Linked DNA regions of Homo sapiens: all the other regions are linked to region 4. Evidence: promoter capture Hi-C in human tissues and cell types (Jung and others, 2019). All regions are on one chromosome and are shown on one strand. Each heading gives the region's core, a stretch centred on a gene start or on the middle of the fragment in contact. The rest is flanking DNA. Distances are from core to core; before and after follow the strand shown.

Evidence for each region. Contacts are between HindIII fragments. The study calls those that stand out against the background at their distance.
Region 1: a contact is called between a fragment that was not itself captured here and the fragment with the promoter of PRR5-ARHGAP8 in region 4, in 1 of the 25 tissues and cell types used here (spleen).
Region 2: a contact is called between a fragment that was not itself captured here and the fragment with the promoter of PRR5-ARHGAP8 in region 4, in 3 of the 25 tissues and cell types used here (IMR-90 fibroblasts, mesenchymal stem cells and spleen).
Region 3: a contact is called between a fragment that was not itself captured here and the fragment with the promoter of PRR5-ARHGAP8 in region 4, in 2 of the 25 tissues and cell types used here (IMR-90 fibroblasts and lymphoblastoid cells).

Annotation. Positions count from the first base shown.
Region 1 is chr22:45,248,378-45,251,864 of GRCh38, forward strand. No RefSeq gene overlaps it. Among named protein-coding and RNA genes, the nearest start is that of KIAA0930, 9.2 kb to the left of the region's middle. RefSeq lists an enhancer at 1,255-1,304. The HindIII fragment of the contact is 6,006 bases long and covers 1-3,487 here.
Region 2 is chr22:44,018,811-44,022,333 of GRCh38, forward strand. It overlaps LOC124905131 (a long non-coding RNA gene), which reads right to left. Exons shown (of 2, transcript XR_007068125.1): 1 at 2,641-3,523; 2 at 88-1,308. It also overlaps a transcript of PARVB not described here. Among named protein-coding and RNA genes, the nearest start is that of PARVB, 3.7 kb to the right of the region's middle. The HindIII fragment of the contact is 3,129 bases long and covers 374-3,502 here.
Region 3 is chr22:44,059,836-44,063,290 of GRCh38, forward strand. All of the region lies in intron 1 of PARVB (parvin beta), which reads left to right. Among named protein-coding and RNA genes, the nearest start is that of PARVB, 37 kb to the left of the region's middle. The HindIII fragment of the contact is 5,255 bases long and covers 1-3,455 here.
Region 4 is chr22:44,700,907-44,703,964 of GRCh38, forward strand. PRR5-ARHGAP8 (PRR5-ARHGAP8 readthrough) reads left to right here and starts at 1,298. Exons shown (of 15, transcript NM_181334.6): 1 at 1,298-1,702. The coding sequence starts at 1,569. It overlaps PRR5 (proline rich 5), which reads left to right and starts at 1,298. Exons shown (of 8, transcript NM_181333.4): 1 at 1,298-1,702. The coding sequence starts at 1,569. RefSeq lists a silencer at 1,172-1,581. The HindIII fragment of the contact is 17,168 bases long and covers 1-3,058 here.

The DNA.
Region 1 (3,487 bases), core at 948-3,447, 550 kb after region 4:
GACGTGTGCCACCACACTCGGCTAATTTGTGTGTGTTTTTAGTAGAGACGGGGTTTCACCATGTTGGCCAGGCTGGTATCGAACTCCTGACCTCAAGTGATCCACCCACCTCCGTCTCCCAAAGTGCTGGGATTAATTATAGGCATGAGCCACCGCGCGCAGCCCTGGAATGCTGTTTTGAAGGAAGAAAACCTATGTCATGCAACACAGGACAGCTTCATTGCTGGGAAGTGGAGTGGAGATGCAGGGTGCTCCAGGGCAGGGGCACCTGAAACCAGCGCAGCCTGAAACAGGCAGATCCCTTCTGCTCCAGCGCCCTGCTCCATCTGTCAATGAGAAGGAGGCTAAACTAGATATCCCCTTGGGCCTTTCCAGCCCCAACATCATGGGAGAACAGGTAGGGTGGGCCAGGGCAGGGAGAGCTGGAGAGCCTGCTCCCCTTTTCCTGCCCCCTGAGGCTCCAGTTCAGAAGATGTTCCCCTTGTCCATGAACACACAGCCTTGGCACCCTCTGCCTCCTGCCTGGTCATGGCTGTGATCCAGGTGAACCTGACCTACCTGTCTCTGGACAGAACCTTTTGACTTCTGCTAGCACAGCTCCCTGGCATCTCCCCACCCCCAAAGCTTTGGTGAGCAGAGCCAGGTGGGACTGGGCAATAGGTCTGGTCATTGCCTCCATTTGGTCATCTCAGAATCAGCCCCCTTGGAGGCATCTGTGTGACCTCTGCCCCTGCTGATGCTAGGTTATTGGTTAGGCTCACAGGGCTGGAGCTCACAGAATTTTGAGGGGCGATGAACACTGTGTTAATAATTAACATTGTGTACTACTGTAAAATGCAAAAATAAAATGGCAAAATTAAAATTAATAGACATTTCATTAAATACCTACAAGATGGAAGATTATGTCATCTTTTCGATTTGGTATTTATAAAAGTTTTACTACATTTGAAAACTCTTTGTGGGTTAGATTTTCTCACGTAGCAAGAATTCTGAGAGTTCCAGATGGTCGACGAGAAATCAGAAACTGAAAGTTACTGGTATTTTAGTTTATTTGGCAAACGTGTATTCAGGACTTACCTCTGCTGGGCGTGGTGTTATGAATTTACATATGTCAACACACTGAATTCTATGACTTAAGAGCCATCATTATTCCTGTTTTATGCATGAGGAAACCGAGGCATACAGAGGTTATGTACCTTCTCCAAGATTAGCAAAGGCAGAGTCACGTAGCCAAGAAAATTCAAAGGCAAAATTATAGAAATCTTTTCAGATTTTTTTTTTTTTTTTGAGACGGAGTCTCACTCTGTCACCCAGGCTGGAGTGCAGTGGCGCTATCTCAGCTCACTGCAAGCTCCGCCTCCCAGGTTCACGCCATTCTCCTTCCTCAGCCTCCCTAGTAGATTACAGGCGCCCGCCAACACACCCGGGTATTTTTTTTTTTTTTTTTTTTTTGTATTTTTAGTAGAGACTGGGTTTCACTGTGTTAGTCAGGATGGTCTCGATCTCCTGACCTTGTGATCCACCCGCCTTGGCCTCCCAAAGTGCTGGGATTACAGGCATGAGCCGCTGTGCCTGGCCTGAAATCTTTTCAGAATTTTTCAGGGGAAACATTTTGATAAGGGTGCATTCATGTTGCAGATGATATAGGCTGAGCCTCTGAAAGCTAGAGTGACTCAGGCCAACAAATGCCTGGAAATGGCTCTGTCCTCCAGCCCACATGGATGGTGGGGCCCACACGTGGAAGGTAACTATTGATGAAAGAAGAAAATTAGGCCAGGTGCAGTGACTCACGCCTGTAATCCCAGCTCTTTGGGAGGCTGAGGGGGAGTGGATCACCTGAGGTCAGGAGTTCAAGACCAGCCTGGCCAACATGGTGAAACCCTGTCACTACTAAAAATACAAAAATTATCCAGGCATGGTGGTGGGCGCTTGTAATCGCAGCTACTTGGGAGGCTGAAGCATGGGAATCACCTGAACCTGGAAGGCAGAGGTTGCAGTGAGCCAAGATGGCGCCATTGCACTCCAACCTGGGCAACAAGAGTGAAACTCCATCTTAAAAAAAAAAAAGAAAGAAAGAAGAAAAATTAACAACTCATTGCTCACTTGGAGGGATAGCGTCTCCAGAGAAGGGAAAAGACAGCACTTCTTAATAACACTCAGTGGTATGCCGAGGTCTCTTTAATCCCCCTTTAATCCCCCTAAATTAACTGCAGGATTGTACTGGGTATTTTTGGGTTTTGTTTTTGTTAGAGACGGCGTCTCGCTCTGTCGCCCAGGCTGGAGTGCAGTGGCGCAATCTTGGCTCACTGCAACCTCTGCCTCCCAGGTTCAAGCGATTCTCCTGCCTCAGCCTCCCAAGTAGCTGGGACTACAGGCGCGTGCCACCACGCCCGGCTAATTTTTTGTATTTTTAGTACAGATGGGGTTTCACCGTGTTAGCCAGGATGGTCTCAATCTCCTGACCCACCCACCTCCCAAAGTGCTGGGATTACAGGCGTGAGCCACCGCACCCGGCCTTGTTTTTGTTTTTGAGACAGTGTCTCACTCTGTCGCCCATGCTGGAGTGCAGTCCACAGCTCACTGCAACCTCTGCCTCCCAGGCTCAAGTGATCCTCCCACCTCAGCACCCCTCCGAGGAGCTGGGACAACGGGCTCACACCCCTACACCAGGCAGATTTTTGTATTTTTAGTAGAGACAGGGTCACGCCATATTGCCCAGGCTGGTCTCAAACTCCTGGGCTCAAGCAATCTGCCTGCATCCACCTCCAAAGTGCTGGGATGACAGGCGTGAGCCACTGCACATGGCCCGGATTGTACTGTTATCATCCCCATTTTATAGGTGAGAACATTGAGGCTCACCTTTTGACAACATTTTGCAGGGAGTGGAGATGCCGAGTGGCTTACTCAAGGCCACGAAGCCAGGGGGTTGTGCCCGTGGTAAGCGCTGAGAAGAAGGCGGTGACTGTACTTGTATATCTGGCCTCACTTCAGTTATATTGATGTGTTTAGCACCTACTTAGTGAAGAGCCCACACCTGTTCCCACCCAGTGCCGCCCTTTCCTACGTGGGCGATGGAGCAGTGGTGCATCATGGGAGCCACGGATAAGGGCTGGATGGGAAAGTTTGGGCACATCTGGAAGCCCCAGGCTGTTGTATAGACCTTCAATCCTGGGAGTCATGACCAAGGAGTATTTATGGTGCTTCAGAAACATGAGCCGAGGCTGGGCACAGTGGCTCACATTTATAATCCCAGCACTTTGGGAGGCTGAGGCATGTGGATCACCTGAGGTCAGGAGTTCAAGACCAGCCTGGCCAACATAGTGAAACCCCGTCTCTACTAAAAATACAAAAATTAGCCAGGTGTAGGGGTGCACACCTGTAGTCCCAGCTACTCAGGAGGCTGAGGCAGGAGAATCACTTGAACCTGGGAGGCGGAGGTTGCAGTGAACCGAGGTGGCTCCACTGCACTCCAGCCTGGGCAACAGAG
Region 2 (3,523 bases), core at 688-3,187, 680 kb before region 4:
CACATGGGCGGGCTTGCCATGGTTATGGTTGACTCGTGCGCTGCCCCCATCTTGGTCCATTTGCATTGCTATAAAGGAACGCCTGGAGCTGGTTAATTTTTTATTTTTATTATTTATTTATTTAGAGACAAAGTCTCGCTCTTGTCCCCCAGGCTGGAGTGCAATGGCATGATCTTGGCTCACTGCAACCTCCACCTCCAGGTTCAAGCGATTCTCCTGCCTCAGCCTCCCCAGTAGCTGGGATTATAGGCGCCTGCCACCATACCTGGCTAATTTTTGTATTTTTAGTAGAGACAGGGTTCCACCATGTTGGCCAGGCTGGTCTCGAACTTGTGACCTCAGGTGATCTGCCCGCCTCGGCCTCCCAAAGTGCTGGGATTACAGGCGTGAGCCACCACGCCTGGCCTATTTTTATTTTTTTATTTTTGAGATGGAGTCTTTCTCTGTTGCCCAGGCTGGAGTGCAATGGCATGATCTTGGCTAACTGCAACCTCCGCCTGCCGGGTTCAGGTGATTCTCCTGCCTCAGCCTCCCGAGTAGCTGGGATTACAGGCATGCATCATGACACCCAGATAATTTTTGTATTTTTAGTAGAGACAGGGTTTCACCATGTTGGCCAGTCTAGCCTCAAACTGCTGACATCAGGTGGACTGCTGGCCTCGGCCTCTCAAAGTGCTGGGATTGCAGGCATGAGCCACCGTGCCCGGCTGAAGCTGGTAATTAATAAAGAAAAGAGGTTTTGTCGCTCACGGCTCTGCAGGCTGCACAAGCAGCATGGCACAGCATCTGCACGGGTGAGGGCCGCAGGCTGCTTCTCCTGGCAAAAGGAGCAATGGAGCCACATGCACAGAGATTACAGGGCAAGAGAGGAAGCAAGAAAGTGCGGGGGACGGCCAGCTCTCAAGGGAGCTAACAGAGTGCAAACTCACTCATTACTATGAGGATGGCACAAAACCATGAGGGATCCTCCCCAGGACCCACACACCCCCCATCAGGCCCGACTCCCAACACGGGATTGAATTTCAATATGGGGTTTAGATATTTGGAGTCAAATATCCAATACATAGCACTCCCAAAAGATGCTGAAATCCTAATCCCCAGTACTGTGACTGGGACATTATTTGGAGGTAGGGTTGTATGGAAAAATCAAACTGCCTTTCCTCTTCTCTCACACCACAAGTGTCAACACTCCTGTGACTCCTGTGATGAACGGGCTGAGGATTTCTCCCCGCCAGCAAGTCGGCACTCAGTTCTGCAGCGGCGCCAGCTGGGTGTCCCCCAGTCCAGTTCAATTCCAGCATGGTCCATCTGCAGACAGCACAAGATCCCACAGGGTGAGGGCTCAGTCCCACAAGACAGTCACCACTTTTTTTTTTTTTTTTTTGAGGCAGGGTCTGGCTCTGTTGCCCAGGCTGGAGTACAGTGGCATGATCATGGCTCACTGCAACCTCGACCTCCTGGGCTCAAGTGATCCTCCTAGCTCAGCCTCCTGAGTAGCTGGGACCCCAGGCATATGCCATTACACCCAGCTAATTTTTTATTTTGTACAGAGGGGGTCTTGCCATATTGCCCAGGCTGGTCTCGAATTCTTAGCCTCAAGTGATTCTCTGGCCTCAGTCTCCCATAGTGTTGGGCTCTCAGGCATGAGCCATTGCATCCAGCCACCTGCCACCACTTCTGATGCCAGTCACAAGCCCCAGCTAGTTCTGCCTGTGCTTCTGACTGGCTATAAATTGAGATTCTTACCCCCCTCAGGTTTGATTAGCTGGAGTGGCTCACAAAACTCAGGGCAACACTGACATTTTCTGGATGATTACAAAGGGTGTTACAAAGGCTTCTGATGAACACCAGAGGAAGAGACTGGTAGGGCAAGGATGGAGGAGGGGCATTAAGCTTCCTTGCCCTCCCCAGGTGCACCACCCTCAGGAACCTCCATGTGTTTAGCTATTTGGAAGCTTCTCCAACTCTGTCCTTTCTTTTTTTTTTTTGAGACTGAGTCTCACTCTGTCGACCAGGCTGGAGTGCAGTGGCGTGATCTCGGCTCACTGCAACCTCCACCTCCTGGGTTCAAGCGATTCTCCTGCCTCAGCCTCCCAAGTAGCTGGGATTACAGACATGCACCACCATACCTGGCTAATTTTTGTATTTTTAGTAGTGACGGGGTTTCACCATGTTGGCCAGGCTGACTCCTCCAACTCCTGACCTCAAGCGATCCACCCACCTTGGCCTCCCAAACTGCTGGGATTATAGACGTGAGCCACCACGCCTGGCCCCCCTTTTGGGTTTTTATGGAGCCTTCATTGGCTAAGCACAATTGAAGCTGGACAACCATGTCGAAGTGTGATTGGACAAAAACAGTATGACTCAACACCATCAGTCAGAGTGGTGAAGCCCCGCAAGGCCTGTCTGTATAGCATTTCTTCCTCCTGGGCGGGAGGCTGGACTCCTCCTGAAATGGGGGTCCCGTGACCCTCAGTCAGACAAGGCAGGTCAGAGAATTTCTCCACGGCCAGCTCCAAGATGGAAAGGTGGGGGAAGATTCAAGTATATTTTCATTTTCTATGGCCTGACTTGGGGAGAAAAAGGAGCAGGTGAAAGGAGGGAAGGAGAAAGAAGGTCAGAAAGAGAGAGAAACTACACCTGAAGCCTGCTTCCAAAGATCCAACATGATAACACAGGACTATCGTTCCCCTTTATTGCTCTGAAGCTGTTTCCACACTGCTTCAGGAACCAAGGAAAAAAGAACAAATATTGTAACAAAAGATCTGCTTATTGCTATAGTCACTGAGGAAATAACAAGGGTGATGGGAATTATGAGCCAGGCATGGTGGAGGAAAACCAATGCATAAATATCATCATCTCACAGGGTCTTTGCAGATGATGAGGTGAAGATGAATCACCAGGATGGGCTCTAATCCAACATGACTGTGTCCCTGTAAAGTCTAGACTCACACACACACACACACACACACACACACACACACACACACACACACACACACACACAGGGCCTAGTAGAGACGGAGGCAGAGACGGGGCAATGCTTCTACAGGCCGAGGAACATGGAAGATTTGCTGGCAAACCCCAGGAGCCTGGAGAGATGCAGGGAACAGATTTGCCCGTGCAGCCTCCAAATGGAAATGAACCTAGCCTACACCTTGATTTGGATTTCTGGCCTCCTGCTGAAATCCTAATCCCCAGTACACAGGGGTATTACAAGGACACGGTCATCTTGGATTACAGCCCACTCTGGTGACTTCATCTTCACTTGATCATCTGCAAAGACCCTTGTGAGATGATGATATTTATCAATTGGTTTTCCTCCACCGTGCCTGCCTCATAATTCCCGTAGACCTTGTTATTTCTCTCCAAACTGTGAGAGAAGACGTTTCTGTTGTTCTGAGCCCTCCAGCTCATGGAACTTTGTGCTGGCAGCCCCAAGACACCCCAGTGTCCTCTCCCTGTCTCTTCTGCCTGGTGGGTCTTCTCCTCCTTTACTGAAAGGAAAAGGGCATTTGATCCT
Region 3 (3,455 bases), core at 750-3,249, 640 kb before region 4:
CAGCACTCGTCGTCTTTGGCGGGGCGTGTTTGCTCAGCATCATGGAAGGGGGATGTGAGGTACCCAGGTGGCAGTTTCTCTACCACGATGCTTTCTCTGCTTGCTATCGGGAGAAATGTTCTTTCCTATGTTGTGGGAAGGCGGAAAGGGCACTCTGAAATGTAAGGTGGCCTTTTGTATTAGAATTTCATGGCTGAGACCAGGCGTGGGGGCTCATGTCTGTCATCCTAGCACTTTGGAAGGCCAAGGCAGGTGGATCACCTGAGGTCAGGAGTTTGAGACCAGCCTGGCCAACATGGTAAAATGCCATCTCTACTAAAAATACAAAAAATTAGCTGGGTGTGGTGGCAGCCACCTGTAATCCCAGCTACTTGGGAGGCTGAGGCAGGAGAATCACTTGAACCCAGGAGGTGGAGGTTGCAGTGAGCTGAGATTCTGCCACTGCACTCCAGCCTGGGCAACAGAGAGAGACTCTTTCTAAAAAAAAGAAAAGAAAAGAATTTCATGGTTGATTGTCACAGGACCATCTTTAGTCCCAAGATCTGAGGCAAGGGAATCGTTTTCAATAGGAAACTTTTAAATGTTTGAGCAGCAGAAAGGGAGATTGAGCCAGAAGAACTTGCTGGTGGAAAGATGGTGGAAGCTGGGAGCTTTGAGGTTCTAAAAATCCTGGTGTGTCAGGTCAGGTAGTGGGGCAACCGGAGCTTAGGGTGAGTTATACCTGATGGGACTTAACTGGGTAAATGTCATCTAGTAACCCAACTACATTCGGCATTAATATCTGGACAAAAGGTGGAATACACCCGGGTTCTTTGGGCACAGGCGAAGGAGAGGTCTCATAGTTTGATGTTGCTCAAGAAGGGAAAACAAGCAGGATGGGAAGAGGTCTAATCAGCCGGCTGGAGTGGGGTGCTGGGTTTAGTTCATTCCTTCTTAAACTCAGCCAGTTCTCATTATTCATGGTGGTTTTGATCTATAAAGTTGCCACAAACCCCAAGTTAGCCAATACTGAGCCATCACTCCTAGGGCAGTACAGCGCTCGGTTCCTGCGAGCCTCTGGTCACAACATTTTCAGCAACAGATCCATACATAACTTTTTCTTATATATGTTTCTTTTTAAAGATACGTTATTTAAAATGTATTGTTGATTGATTAACATTGAGCTCACGGCCAACAGCAGTATAAGTGCTGCCTGAATGAAGCTTCTCTGACCTGTGCGTTCTCTGCAAGGCATACCTCAGCCTTCTTGCACTTGGGAACACTAGGAGTACCCCTCGCCACGCGTGGGGACCCATTTTAAACAGCAAAGTTGGCTGGGCACGGTGACTCATGCCTGTAATCCCAGCACTTTGGGAGGCCGAGGCAGGCAGATCACCTGAGGTCAGGAGTTCGAGACCAGCCTAGCTAACATGGGGAAGCCCAGTCTCTACTAAAAGTACAAAAAAATTAGCTGGGCATGGTGGTGTGCTTCTGTAATCCCACCTATTCAGGAGGCTGAGGCTGGAGAATTGCTTGAACCCAGGAGGCAGAGGTTGCAGTGAGCCGAAGTCACGTCACTGTACTCCAGCCTGGGCATCAGAGCAAGACTTCATCTCAAAAACAAAACAAAACAAAACAAAACAAAACAAACCAAAACAGTGAAGTCACCAACAAATAGCAGAAAAATGTGAAAAACATGGCATTAAATAGACCATGAAATGGACACTTGTTTATGATGTGAGACCTCAGACAAGAAGGCAGAGCGCCCCGTGTTTGACCTCAGGTGGGGACACATCCGGCAACTCAGATTCTTTTTTTTTTGAGTGGAGTCTCACTGCGTCACCCAGGCTGGAGTGCAGTGGTGCAATCTCGGCTCACTGCAACCTCTGCCTCCTGGGTTCAAGCAATTCTCCAGCCTCAGCCTCCCGAGTAGCTGAGACTATAGGTGCGCACTACCACACCCAGCTAATTTTTGTATCTTTAGTAGAGACGGGGTTTCACCATATTGGTCAGGCTGGTCTCGAACTCCTGACCTCAGGCGATCCACCCGCTTTGGCCTCCCGAAGTGCTGGGATTACAGGTGTGAGCCACCACACCCAGTCAGATTCTTTGCTTCTGTGTGCAGGTCTGTGAATGAATGTAGGCCAAGAGTATTGATTCTGAGCTTACAAATTTTAGCCAGTAGACACATTTACACATACAGAATCCATGAATCAAGGCGATTGACTGTACTTTGACAATTATTTGTTTAGCACTGTAGGAGGAACCTGCAAACTGTTCCTTCCCTCTGCTCACATACTGCCCAGGGTAAGACTTCTGACACCAGAGGTGCAGGGATGCTTCCTGCCGCACCTGGCAGTTCTCCAGCAGACACCAGCTGGGTGTCCTGCAGTTCAGTTCAATTCTGACACCATCGACCTGGAGAGAGCCTCAGACCCCACAGGTGAGGGCTCAGCCCCACGAGACTGCACCCCAAATCAGGGTCCCCACGACTGCTTCCTCGGTTTTGATTAATTTGCTGGGACTCAGAACTTGGAAATGGGCCAGGCACGGTGGCTCAAGCCTGTAACCCCAGCACTTTGGGAGGCCAAGGCAGGTGGATTGCTTGAGGTCAGGAGTTCGAGACCAACCGGGCCAACATAGTGAAACCCCATCTCTACTAAAAATACAAAAATTGGTTGGGCATGGTGGTGGGCACTGTAATCCCAGCTACTCGGGAGACTGAGGCAGGAGAATTGCTTGAACCTGGGAGGTGGTGATTGCAGTGAGCTGAGATCGCACCACTGCACTCCAGCCTGAGCAACAAGAGCAAAACCCTGTCTGGAAAAAAAAAAAAAAGAACTCAGGGAAACACTGCATTTGTGCTCCCTGGTCTATTATAAAGGAGATGATAAAGGGTGCAGGTGAGCAGAACAGGAGGAGGCACACAGGGTGAGGCCTGGGAGGGCCCCCAGCACAGGAGCTTCTGTTGCCCTGGAGTTGGGGTGTGCCACCCTCCTGGCACCTGGATGTGTTTACCCACCCGGAAGCTCTCTGCACCCTGTAGTTCAGGGATTTTTACGGAGGCTTCATCATGTAGGCATGTCTGGTTATTAGTTCAATCTCCAGCCCCTCTCCCCTTTCTGGAGGGTGGGGTTGGGGGGTGTGGAGCTGAAAGCTCCAGGCTTCTAATTGTGTCTGGGTCTTTCTGGTGCTCAGCCCCCACCCAGGAGCCACCAAGAGTCACCTCATTAGAATAAAACATCCTTTTATCTCCCTGGAAATTCCAAGGGATTAGGAACTTTGTGTCAGGAACCAGGGTCAAAGACTAAATATTAGAACAAAAGATTGTCCTGGCACCTGGAAATTACAAGGTTCTTAGGATCTGTGTGCCAGGGACTGGTGGCAGAGACCAATATGAATATTTCTTTTCTTTTCTTTTTTTTTTTTTGAGATGGAGTCTCGGTCTGTCACCCAGGCTGGAGTGCAGTGGTGTG
Region 4 (3,058 bases), core at 48-2,547:
AGTTTTGCTGTTGTTGCCCAGGCTGGAGTGCAGTGGCGAGATCTCAGCTCTCTGCAACCTCTGCCTCCCAGGTTCAAGCGATTCTCCTGTCTCAGCCTCCTGAGTAGCTGGGATTACGGGCATGCACCACCACGCCCAGCTAATTTTGTATTTTTAATAGAGATGGGGTTTCTCCATGTTGGCCGGGCTGGTCTTGAACTCCTGACCTCAGGTGATCCTCCCACCTCGGCCTCCCAAAGTGCTGGGATTACAGGCATGAGCCATCACCTCTCTCTTACATTTTATATGGGGCCCTCCCAGCTCCTGGAGCTGTGGCTGTCACCCCCCATCTGATGGAGGGGTCAGGTGAGCCTTGTGGGAATCCCAGAAGCTGGGGACTGGGAAGGGCCCTGTTCAAGGGGCTGGACGCTCCCTGTGGTGAAGCCCAACTCTACCATTTGTTGATTGCACAATGTTGGCACAATGTTGGGCAAGTTATTTCACTCTGTGAGCCTCAATGTCCTCAACTGGAAAATGGGGAGAAGAATAATCTCTACCTCACGGAAGTAGTTCATGTTAGTTCATGTGAAATCAGACATCTAAAAGTGCTCTGCGAAGCAGGCAGGAAGCACCGGCTGTGCCCTGCCTTCACTGGGATCACTCTGCCCCCACCACAGGGACTTGGGAAACTGCTTGGTTTTACCATCCAAGAGACCTGGGGGTGGGAGATAAGGAGCAAACCCTCTACTTCTTCAAGCCCTCACTCCAGCAAATCCTCCAGGCAGCCAGGCAATGCTGAAGTCCCTGTCCAAGGGGGTCTAGGCTGAGCCCGGGTGGAGTGGGTTCTTGGGCCAAGGTGCCTGGAGGGGACTGAAGGCCTCTACCCAAAGTCCTCATGAGAACTGGGTGGGGGAGCCTGTGTTCAGGTGAGGGGTACGGAGGCACCTCTGTGGCACAGCCTTTGCGAGGAGGGCTGTGGAGGGAGACCTCCGGGGCCGGGGTCGAAGGACATCGTGTGGGCGCGACCGCAGTGCTGGGCGGGGGGCGGGCGCTTGGGCTTGGGCCCTGCGTCCTGTGCGTGTTGGTTTCCTGTGGGCACGTGGGGCCCTCGGAAGAGGGGAGGAGGGTGAGCACGTCCTCAGAGGGCAGACCCAGCGAGGCGTCGTGGCAGCTGCGGCCGCGGAGACGCCGGCTCCGCCTCTTGCACACGCCCCCTCGCCTGAGGCCCCGCCCCGCCCGCGATGCCCCCGCCCCCTTCCCCGCCCCGCCCCCCGGGGCGCCGAGACCCGCCCCTGGGCCCGCCCCCGGGTCCGCCCCCGGCCTCCGTTTGCGCCGGGTCTGTGCTGGCCGCGCGCCTGGCGCTCCACGCTGAGCCTCTCCGTGCAATGATTAACCCGGCGGGGCGGCCGGCGCGGGACCCGAGACGGAGGCGCGGGGCCGGGGCGGGACCCCGCAGGACCGCTCGGCTTCCTGCTCTCGCCGGAGTTTCCGCGTAGAGGGCGCATCGCCGGCCCGGGGCCCTTGGTGCGGCGTGGCGCAGGGCGCGGCGTGGGGCGCGCGTGGGCGCGGCGCAGGCGGCCCGGGTCACCATGAGGACTCTCCGCAGGTTGAAGTTCATGAGTTCGCCCAGCCTCAGTGACCTGGGCAAGAGAGAGCCGGCCGCCGCCGCGGACGAGCGGGGCACGCAGCAGCGCCGGGCCTGCGCCAACGCCACCTGGAACAGGTAAGGCCGCGCCCTCCCGGCCACCCGGAGGCCCTGGAGCCGGGGGAGGGGACCCCTGAGCCGTCCGCGGGCTAGGGGCCGCCCCGAGCCAGGAACGCTGCCGAAGGCGGCGCGGCGCTTCACAGTTTGCAAAGAACTTGCCCCGCCGGAGTGGTGCGGGCCTGGAGGAAAGTTCAGTGCAGCGTGGTTCCAGAACCCAGGGAAGGGAGCGAGGCCCGCCAGCGCCCGGGGCTGGCCCAGAAGCGCCCGGCGGGTGGGCGGCGGGGTGGGCCGGGAAGCCGCGTGCCCGCCTCCTACCCGGGGTCTTTCCACGTCTCCACTGCGGTGCTCGTGACAACCTGGGAGGCTAACGGAGCAGGAAGTATTTTTCCCATTTTGCGGCTGAGCACGGGAGCCTCGGGGCTCAGTGGGTGGGTCGCGCAGGCTTCCTGTGTCTCTTTAAGCTCCCTTCGGCTTTCCCTTGAGAGGCCCCCTGTCCTCCAGCTGTCAGCAGGGGGTGCGGCAGCTGCGAGGCATTCTTTAGAGGACTCTCCTCCAGGGGTCATTCCCAGACAAGCAGGGGCCTGGGAAGCCCCTTCTCCCAGCTTTGTTTGAGGAGCAAGTCCGGGATCTGGAAAAGAGACGGTTTATTTAGTGGAACTCCCCAGCGTCTCTGCTCCCTAGGAAAATGAGAGGCAGGAGAAAGTGAGGCAGGCTGTTCGCGGGAGGCAGTGGACACTGTTCGGGGGAGGCTGTGGACACTGTTCGGGGGAGGCTGTGGACGTTGCCCCTCTCGCGCCCACACCTGGCAGTAAAATCTTGCCAGATGCTCCACCGGCTGTGGTCTTGGCCACCGGGAACCCGGCTGTCACTTGGACACACGTTATTTTCAGTTCATTGAATGCATTGTGAGCGTCATGGTGGGCTCAGGGCTGCCAGCGAGACCCTCTTCAAACGTGGTCTCTTCTGTCTCTGAGTTGCAAACTGCTAGAGGGCTGTCACATGCCTGCCTCCGTTTCCCTCTCCGTCAGTGGGTATTCGCATTCCTCCCTGTGGGGAGGGCTGGTGTGGGAACAGTGAAGGAAGGACTCCTGTTGGGAAATCTCCCTGACCCAACGACTGCACAGTGTCTTAAGAGCTGTGTTCTCCACCAGGCACGGCGGCTCACACCTGTAATCCTAGCACTTTGGGAGGCCAAGATGGGAGGATTACTTGAGCCAGGGAAGTCGAGGCTGCCATGAGCCATGATGCCACCACTGCACTCCAGCCTCGGTGACAGAGCAAGACCCTATCTCAAAAAAAAAGAAGAGCAGTGTTCTCCTCCAGTATTGAGATGAAAGCCATCTCTCTGTCCTTGAATCTCTGCCGTGATTTAGA